3 separate regions of the Homo sapiens genome follow, and all the other regions are linked to region 1. The links are contacts of gene promoters, found by promoter capture Hi-C in blood cells and fetal thymus (Javierre and others, 2016). All regions are on one chromosome and are shown on one strand. The core of a region is centred on a gene start or on the middle of the fragment in contact, and the rest is flanking DNA. Distances in the headings are between cores, read along the strand shown. Region 1 holds the start of DYNLT3 (dynein light chain Tctex-type 3). Region 2 holds the start of LANCL3 (LanC like family member 3). Region 3 has its middle 67 kb from the start of LANCL3.

Region 1 (3,074 bases), core at 572-3,071:
ATTTTAAACCAGTTTTCTAGACTAAGAAAATCCTTAAGCATCTCTTTCAGAATAAGCCTCAAGATGCTGATAGCACACAACAAAATATAGAAGGACCCCTATAAAGAGTTAGTGGATAAATATTTAAAATCTTGTTCTTGGCCGGGTGTGGTGGTTCACGCCTGCAATCCCAGCACTTTGGGAGGCCAAGGCGGGTGGATCACCGGAGGTCAGGAATTCGAAACCAGCCTGACCAATAAGGTGAAACCCCGTCTCTACTAAAAATACAAAAATTGGATGGGTGTGGTGGCGGGCGCCTGTAGACCCAGCTACTCGGGAGGCTGAGACAGGAGAATTGCTTGAACCCAGGAGGTGGAGGTTGCAGTGAGCTGAGATCACACCACTGTTCTCCAGCATGGGTGACAGAGCGAGACTCCATCTCAAAAAACAATAAAATAAAATAAAACAAAACAAAATATTCTTCTTTTAACAGTAAGGTTTCTAAGTTTGTGCTGAAACTCAAAATATAGCTTTTAAAAATCTCCACCAGTGCAGCAAGCTTCAAGAGAAACAAAATGTATGACTCACCTCTTTGACAATATTGTGGGCTTCCTCAGCATTGAAGCCAACCTAAAGGGAAAACAAAAGGTAAAGCTGCTTTCAACACAGGCTTACAAGTATGACGCTACACAGAATATCCTAGGCTGGCCTAGACAGGTGTTAAAGTGTTAAAGGGCATCAGGTCTACAGAAGGGGCCAATCTTGCCCCTAAACACTTAAAAATACTGAATGCTTTCCCTACCTACCTCCCGTGAGGTCTGGGGCAGAGCCTGCAAGTCTACATTTTTTTTTAAAAAAGTGCTTTATACTGGTGATTCTAATGAACATCCTAGATTAAGAATCATTGTATTGTAAAACGTAGGAAATAAGCAAGAGGTGACTATGAGGATGTTATGTGTCATAAGAATATAGAAATGGTTTCAGCTAAGTGAGAGAATGAAGTGGTCCATATGAAGAGAATGCTTAGTAGACTATTTTCAATTTTGTTTTTAACTTATGCTAGGCAAAAATTTCTAGGCAAAAATTCCTTTCCCAAATTAAAGATTATGAAAATACTTGATAACTCAAGATTAATATCACTTTAGTACTATAAAGTGGTCTGACAACTTAGTCTTTTCTTTGGAGTCCCCATCAATAACAGGGAGATAACAACTGACATCATGGGTTTCTGGTGAGGGTTGGGAAAGCCTGAGTCAGTAAGCAAGGGCTCGTAATCCATAAAGCACCTCCTTGCCTAATCCTGGCAAGCATTACCGGGAGCGGGAATGGCAGTGCCACCAGGACCCCGAGACTCCGAGCCATGGGGGCTGCAGCACCCGCGCTGAGGAAGCCAAGGGACGGAGGCAGCAGCGGGAAGACCCGTTTTCGAGGCCCGCCCGGTAGGAGGGCGGCGCCCGTCACCCCATGCCCACTCCTCGCACCCAAGTCAGGCCTCGTCCTCCCAACCCTGCCCCGACCCCACCGTCTGATCCGCGCGCTCCTGGCCACCCCTCCCACCCCGAATCTCAGGACTTTGGGGTGGGGAGAACGGGTCGGGCGGGGCGGATCCCGGGCCCAGGGGAGAGGACCCGGGCTCGGAGGACGCCGCACCCCAACTCTTGGGACCGCCCTCGCTGGGAGACCACCCGGCAAGAGCCCCGCGCAGAGGAAGGCGGGAGTGGGGGGCGCTCCCAGGTAGCCAAGGGGCGGTACCTCGTCGCAGTGGCGATGGTACTCCTCCATGGTAGCGCCGGCTCTCCCTGGGGCGGAGCGACACGCCGGTAGAGCACCGCGGCCGCGCACTGGCCTCCGGGGAGGCCCCACCCCCGTTTATGGCCTAGGGCCTTTCCCTACGCAATCCCCGCCTTTGTGTCGCAGTGGCGTCACCTGGCAGCGCTGGGCGGGCTTCGGGCAACGCCAGGCGTCACTTCAGGCCACGCACTTTTTCCTCGCTTCCTCTGCCCTTTCTGGAAACAAGGGATGAATGTAAAGAACTGGGAATGGCGCCAGTGTGGATCAGATGGGGTGACCTAGTGGCAGTTAGTCTAGACTCCGCACTAGTGGTTGAGTGCCCACTGCTGTGATTACTTGCACGTATTTGTTCATTCACCATCATGTGGCACATAAATGTAGTTAATTTCGTGGTAAACCAGCCACTTTGATTTGTCCACTTACTAGCTATGTTACTTGGAAAAATTCACCTCCCACAGCTTCAGTTTTCTCATATGGAAACTTACCATCATACCTATTTCACTACTGGTTGTAAGGATCTGATGAGAAGCTGTATACACGGCTCCTAAAGTAGATGCTTCTCAACAAGAGAACAATGACTACATTTTAAAATAAATGTAGTAATTTTAAATTAGTAATTTTAAAATAAATGTAGTAATTTTAAATTAGTAATTTTAAAATAAATTACTAATTTCCAGATGATCCTAGACACTTCCTCAAAACCTCACAATAAGTCAGAGGAGTTAGTTCTTCCATCACTGCTTTTATCAAGATGAAACTGAGGTATAGAGAATTTAATTTGCCCAAGGTCATACAGCCAGTAGGGTGTAGAAAAGGGACTTGAGCTCAAGTAGTCTGATAGCAGAGCCCAAGCTCTTAACCACTGTATTACTTTCCTATTGCTACTGTAACAAATTACCGTAAATGTAGTGCCTTAAAGAAACACAGTCCTGTTCTCTTACAGTTCTGTTACCAGTGTAGGGTGTCCAGGTTCTTGGCTCTTTGAACAAAGAATTGGACAAAACGCACAAACAAAGCAAGGAAAGAATGAAGCAACAAAAGCAGAGATTTATTGAAAACGAAAGTACACTCTACAGGGTGGGAGCGGGCAGAGAAGCCGCTCAAGGGCCGGGATCCAGAATCTTCTCTGGTCCAAATACCCCCTAGAGATTTCCCATTGGCCACTTGGTGTGCACCCCATGTAAATGAAGTAGTGGCCCACAATCAGAGGCTGAAGTTACAAAGGCCACACTCCTATGCAAACGTCTGATTGGTTGCAAGAAAGCAACCATCAGAGGCTAAAGTGAAGTTACAAAGTTGCACTT
Region 2 (2,893 bases), core at 56-2,555, 280 kb before region 1:
CTTTCCCAGACTACATCAAGTAAGGGTGGAGGGGCAGGGTATTTAATATCTGCTTCCCAATCATGGTGACATTTAACACTTCTGAGGAAAAAAAAATGCCTCCAAACTGGCCTTTCAAGTAAGTGGAGTAGTTACTCTCCCCACAAAGTATCAGAAACTGTTCTATGAGCCACTTACTCCTTTATGTCTTGCACAGTCCCTATCAAAAGTCAAATACTCCTGGGAGACGTGACCTCTTTAGTCTTCAAGAGTCAACACTTTGGGAAAGGCAGAATTATTTCAAACAGCTGAGCACAAGAAAGGCAACTAGCTTGTGTAATTGTTCATTTTCTGTTTTTTCCTACTGAATTGTAAGCTACAAGGGGTCTAGGACCATGTCTATCTTATTCATCCCTCTATTTCCAGGTTTCAGGACACATAGGAGACCCTCCACAACGCCCTTGGGAAAAAAGCAGAAGAGGACAAACATGGGAAAAGAAGGGAGGGAAGGGGGAGATAAAAAGCCTAATTAAATTCTCACAGAGCGTTTATCCTAATATTAACTAGTTAATGACCTCAAGATATGTATTGAGCTTTTACTATGCACGCATGGCAGGAGGGGCGTGCCCCTTCCTTGCCTTAACCTGGTGTGGTTCTTTGACTTTTTACTCCTGTATACTCGAAGAAAACAATACAAAAATCAAAGCTGGGAAAAAAGTTCCTGTATGGGGTATTTCACCGTTTTAATGCATTAAACATGATGTGCTCAAATGCCCCAGCCTTTGGGATTGAAACATTCATAATGAGAACTCCGAAGCGACCAAGATGAAATACAAACTTCAAAGAAGGCGCCCAGTTTTGTCTTGCTACTCTAGCCTAGTTCAGTGGCGCCTCAAACTTTAATGTGCATGCGAATCACCTGGCAATCTTGCTGAATATTCAGATTTGGAGTCAATAGGTCTGGAGTGAAGCCTGAGATGCTGCGTTTTTAACATGCCCCCGGGTGATGCTGATGCTTCTAACCCAAGGACCACACTTTGAGTATACAAGGGACTGGAGACCATCACCTCTACCGCCAGGTGTGTGTATGCTGAGTCCCAGCGTTCCAGATCAGTGTCCCGCACGTCCTCGGCCTTCTGCCAGTAGGGGAGGAGTCGGGGGCGGAGCGGGAGGAGTGGCGCGGGCCCCGCGTGGGTCCTGCCAGAGATCACCTCGGCCCCTTGAAGAGGCAGCCAAGCTGCGGCGGCGCAGGAGGGGGCGGGTTCAGCGAGGGCGCGGCCTCTGAGGGGGGGCGCAGGACACGCATCCCCCGCGATCGCCCGGGCCACTCGGGAGCCTCGCGGCAGCCCGGCGCCCCACTTGGCCATCCGCTCCTTGCCCGCCTCCTCTTGTCACCTCCCGTCTCATCCTTCTCGCTCCTTCCCCGCCGCATACACCGGCATCCGAGTGCCTCAGAGAGCCGGAGGTGGTGTGCGGGGCTGCAGGGCACGACTTCAAGCGGTCCTCAGCTCCGCACTAGGGGGCACGGGCAACAGCATGGACACCAAGCGCTGCTTCGCCAATCGCTTCGATGACTACCAGGGCAGCCTGCTGGCGGGCCAGTGTGAGGAGGCGGTGGCGCCCTTGGTCACCGCCACCATCGAGCGCATCCTCCAGGAGCTTCCCCCACTCGGGGGCGGCGCGGAGGCCCGAGGGGCGACGGCGGGGGCTAGCGCCTGCCAGGGGGGGCTTTATGGCGGCGTGGCCGGAGTGGCGTATATGCTCTACCACGTCTCGCAGAGCCCGCTTTTCGCCACGGCCCGGGAACGCTACCTGCGCTCGGCTAAGCGCCTCATCGACGCGTGCGCCCGCGCTGAGGAGTGGGGCGAACCGGACGCCGACACCCGCGCCGCCTTCCTGCTCGGGGGCGCGGGCGTGTACGCCGTGGCCACGCTCGTATACCACGCCCTGGGCCGGTCCGACTACGTGCAGCCGCTGGGCAAGTTCCGGGCTCTGTGTGCCGTCTGCGCGCCGGTCTCCTTCCTGGAGTGCGGCTCCGACGAGCTGTTCGTGGGCCGCGCGGGTTACCTGTGTGCCGCGCTGGTGCTCAAGCAGAAACTCGCCCAGGAGGTAAGAGGTAGCCCGGGCCGCGGGAGGGCGCTCGCCGCCTGCCCGGCCTCCTTTCCCCGGACTCCGTGGCTCGGGCAGCACTGTCCCGAGTTGCTCTCCAAGTCTTTGTTACTCTTGGTGTGGTGCTAGCATTTCTTCAGTCCCTTGAGGTCTATCTCCTGCTTTTGTCCCTCTTCTTTCCTGTCGTTTTCAGTCTCTCATTTGTTGAGATTCGGCGTCTCTGCGCTTTGTTCGTGTTTTTACGTGGCATCACTCCAGATGCCTGTTAGCTTTCTGGGGGATGACAGTGTGGCCCTTTCAAGTAAGATGAAAACCTCAGAAATGGAAGGGATTTCCTTTCCTTTGACTCTGCTGTCAAAAGCTGAGGCATCCTCGAATGTTAGAGTGCTAGAAAGTAATGGAACTTTTCGGGGCCGATGTGGAGGTAAGTTGCTTCTGGAGCCCTGGGTCTGTAACCAAGAATAACTGCTCAGCTGTGGGTCTGATGTGTTTACTGTTTTGCTTACTATTCAGTTCAACCCATGGCTCTTATTAAATGCATATCTGATAGGAGTGTCCCCTTTAAAAATACATAAATGTAGACGGAAACGTACCCGGAAATGTACCCCATTGTGGTTGAATGTGCATTATTTCACTTAAAAATATTTGCTTAGGATGGGCAAGACCACAGCTTTCTTGACAGGGCAGCTTTTCTTGATGAATAACTTTACAGTGGCTCCTAAAAGTGAATTGGTTTTCACATACATATTTTTTCCTGGACTCACTTTGAAATCAGCATGTGGTTATTAGAAGAGAATATGCCAGT
Region 3 (2,941 bases), core at 20-2,519, 340 kb before region 1:
GACATATATTCAAACTATACCAGAGGCCTAGAGGTAGGAAGATGACATATTCAATGTGCTGAAAGAAAAATACTGCTGATGAAGAATTCTACATTCCACAATGTATCCTTCAAAGAAATCAAAAAATAAGTCATCCCAAGATAAACAAATTTCAACAGTGATTCTCACTAGTACACTTGCTCTGCAGGAAATGCTAAAGGGACTTTACTGCTGAAAAATAAACTGACAAATTAGGAATTTCATAGGGTTCAAACTTAATATATCCATAAACTTCATGTAGAAAAAAAAGTATCAAATACTTAAGTATAATGACTAAATAGTGTTGCCAATCATGATATTTCTAGAAAGTATGCCATAGGATACCCATTTCATGAAAAATAAAGAGCTGAACTTTTTATGGTACATTTTTCACAAATCCATAACCATTAGGAAGCACTCCTTTATACAGGACTTGTACTCTTGGAACAGCAATAGGAATCTCCGAAGAACCAGTACTCCTGGGATCAATTTATGGCTAGATTAGTTTCGCAAGTCACCTTCTTCATATTTACAAAGGCAATCTTCAAGTTCTTTTTGTTTTTCCTTAACAAATCAAACATAAAAGCAACTTGAAAAAGTACTTTAGTAGTTCCATGTTGTCTTGTATGTAACTCTGCCATTTTATTTTTCTAATCAAAATGGAAGAAAGCATAACTTGTGCTCTTCTGCTGAATGCAGTGCTTTGCTCTTTAAAGCTGTGTCTCACATAACTGCTAGTTGACATAAAGCATTCTCTCAACAAAAACCATTTACTCAGAATAAAATACAGACACTCTTTCTTTCTTTTCCTCTTCTTCTTGTGTGTGTTTTTTTTTTTGAGGGGACATTGTCCATATGTTATTCAAAGTTCCAGGCTCCTTCTCCAAAGTGGATATGTCATATTGTAGGGTCTGTTCCTCTTCTTGAGACATGGATTGCACACGGTGTGTCCTATAAACTAGGCCTTATTTGGCCATACACCAGTTATTTTCATATTCCAATAGCCAGAAATCAGTACAAGACCCCATCAAATCACAAGGGTAGCTAAAAAAATATGGTTACTTGTGGACCAAGATGAAAACAAATAAGCTTTGATGAAGTCACTCTGCCACAGCGAGTTTCTCTAATTGGAAGATTTGAAAAGTACTAGCAAGTTCATTTTGCTACAGACGTAAGCTTGCTCTTCAGTGAGCTGAGTCCCATGTCTACTAATTGGTTTCAAATTCAGCAGGGAAGACACGGGGATTAGTTATTGAGTCCCCAAAACCGTGAACATAGAGGACTTTTCCAGGTAAATTTTAAAAACAGAGTCTTTACTCTGGTGTTTAAGCTTTGATCCTGAAAACATATCTGAAATCACATTCCTTGTCATGTGGAGACATCTCTCCTGCAGAAAGAATTAAGCTTCCGGGTGCAGCAGACATGGGTGAGCATTTAAAGGGAAGCTGACATCTACCTAGAAGACAGATCCACTAACATATTCCAGTGCCAGAGAAATGCCATGCTTTGGGCATTTAGAATAGTTCCTACTCTGCCTGGGAGCTCTATACCTTTATCTCCAAAGGAGATGAGCACTCCCTAATTGACACACTCCACCCTCCTGTTCATGGGAGAATCCTATTGGTCACCCAGACTCACAGCTGTGCATTCGATCCATGCTCATCACCGAGGCTAACCCAGTCCTTGATTCCAATCATGAATGGACAAACGTTTTCCAGATATTTAAGGAAAGTGAGGAAGATGCACAAATAGAACTAATTCTGGAGGAGGGAAAAAGAGGATATAATACAGGAAACAGAAAAAAACGTTACCAGAACATACTCTCAGAGTTTAAGAAAGACAAGAGGTTTATAAAATGAGAACAAGCTGTCATAGAGGGGAATAATCAGGGGGCAGACGAAAAAGTCCTTGGACACTAGAAAAGTTACTGCAGAATTGACATCACGCAGTGGACTGACAGTGCCTAGTTCCCTGGGCTGCCCACGGAACTCAGTGTGCCCCCCCTCGCCACCACCACCATCCACCCGACGGCGCGCGCCCCTCCACCCATACGGGTCCCCACAGCCCACTTCCGGTCCCTTCGCAGACCCTGTGGCAACCACCACCGCCTGGTCCCGAGGACCCTGCCCTCCACTGGTCGCCTCCGTCGTCCACCATGTTGTGCTCAGAGGCACCCGCCGCGGCCGCCACTGCCGATGCCGATGCCGCCGCCCGCTTCGGGACCCTAGCGACCACACCGCTTTACCCTGCCTGCTCCTCGCGCCCGCACTGCCCGCCCTGGGCCCGCTGTCGCAGGTGCACCAGAACAACCATCTCAGCTGCGAGGTCGCCATCAACATCAAGGTCACCCTGGAGCTCCACGCCTCCTATGTGTACCTGTCCATGGCCTTCTTCTTCGACCGGGACGACGTGGCCCTGGAGAGCTTCAGCCGCTATTTCTTGCACCAGTGGCACGAGAAGAGGGAGCACGCCCAGGAGCTGATGAGCCTGCAGAACCTGCGCGGTGGCCGCATCTACCTTCGCGACATCAGGAAGCCAGAGTGCCAAGGCTGGGAGAGCGGGCTCCAGGCCATGGACTGCGCCTTCTACCTGGAGAAGAACGTCAACCAGAGCCTCCTGGAGCTGCACCAGCTGGCCAAGGAGAACGACGACCCCACCTCTGTGACTTCCTGGAGAACCACTTCCTGAACCAGCAGGCCAAGACCATCAAAGAGATTGGTGGCTACCTGAGCAACCTGTGCAAGATGGGGGCCCCGGAAGCAGGCCTGGCAGAGTACCTCTTTAACAAGCTCACCCTGGGCCGCAGCCAGAAACACACCAGAGCCCAGACAGGTCCCGCAGCCACGGGGTGCCTTCCCCTGCTCGCGCCACCACGCGGGGCGTCCATGTTGTCCTTTCAGAACATTCTCTTCAGTTTTCTCCT

The links. Contacts are between HindIII fragments. The CHiCAGO score rates a contact against its expected background, and 5 or more counts as called.
Region 2: the fragment with the promoter of LANCL3 here is called in contact with the fragment with the promoter of DYNLT3 in region 1 in 6 of 17 cell types (megakaryocytes, erythroblasts, M2 macrophages and 3 more); the score reaches 11.1 in megakaryocytes.
Region 3: a contact is called between a fragment that was not itself captured here and the fragment with the promoter of DYNLT3 in region 1, in 3 of 17 cell types (M1 macrophages, total B cells and naive B cells). The highest score is 6.7, in M1 macrophages.

Annotation. Positions count from the first base shown.
Region 1 is chrX:37,845,750-37,848,823 of GRCh38, forward strand. It overlaps DYNLT3 (dynein light chain Tctex-type 3), which reads right to left and starts at 1,822. Exons shown (of 5, transcript NM_006520.3): 1 at 1,732-1,822; 2 at 568-609. The coding sequence starts at 1,761. RefSeq lists a silencer at 1,486-1,595. The HindIII fragment of the contact is 5,769 bases long and covers 537-3,074 here.
Region 2 is chrX:37,570,356-37,573,248 of GRCh38, forward strand. LANCL3 (LanC like family member 3) reads left to right here and starts at 1,306. Exons shown (of 5, transcript NM_001170331.2): 1 at 1,306-2,088. The coding sequence starts at 1,516. The HindIII fragment of the contact is 8,836 bases long and covers 1-2,893 here.
Region 3 is chrX:37,503,027-37,505,967 of GRCh38, forward strand. It overlaps the pseudogene FTH1P27. Among named protein-coding and RNA genes, the nearest start is that of LANCL3, 67 kb to the right of the region's middle. The HindIII fragment of the contact is 154 bases long and covers 1,193-1,346 here.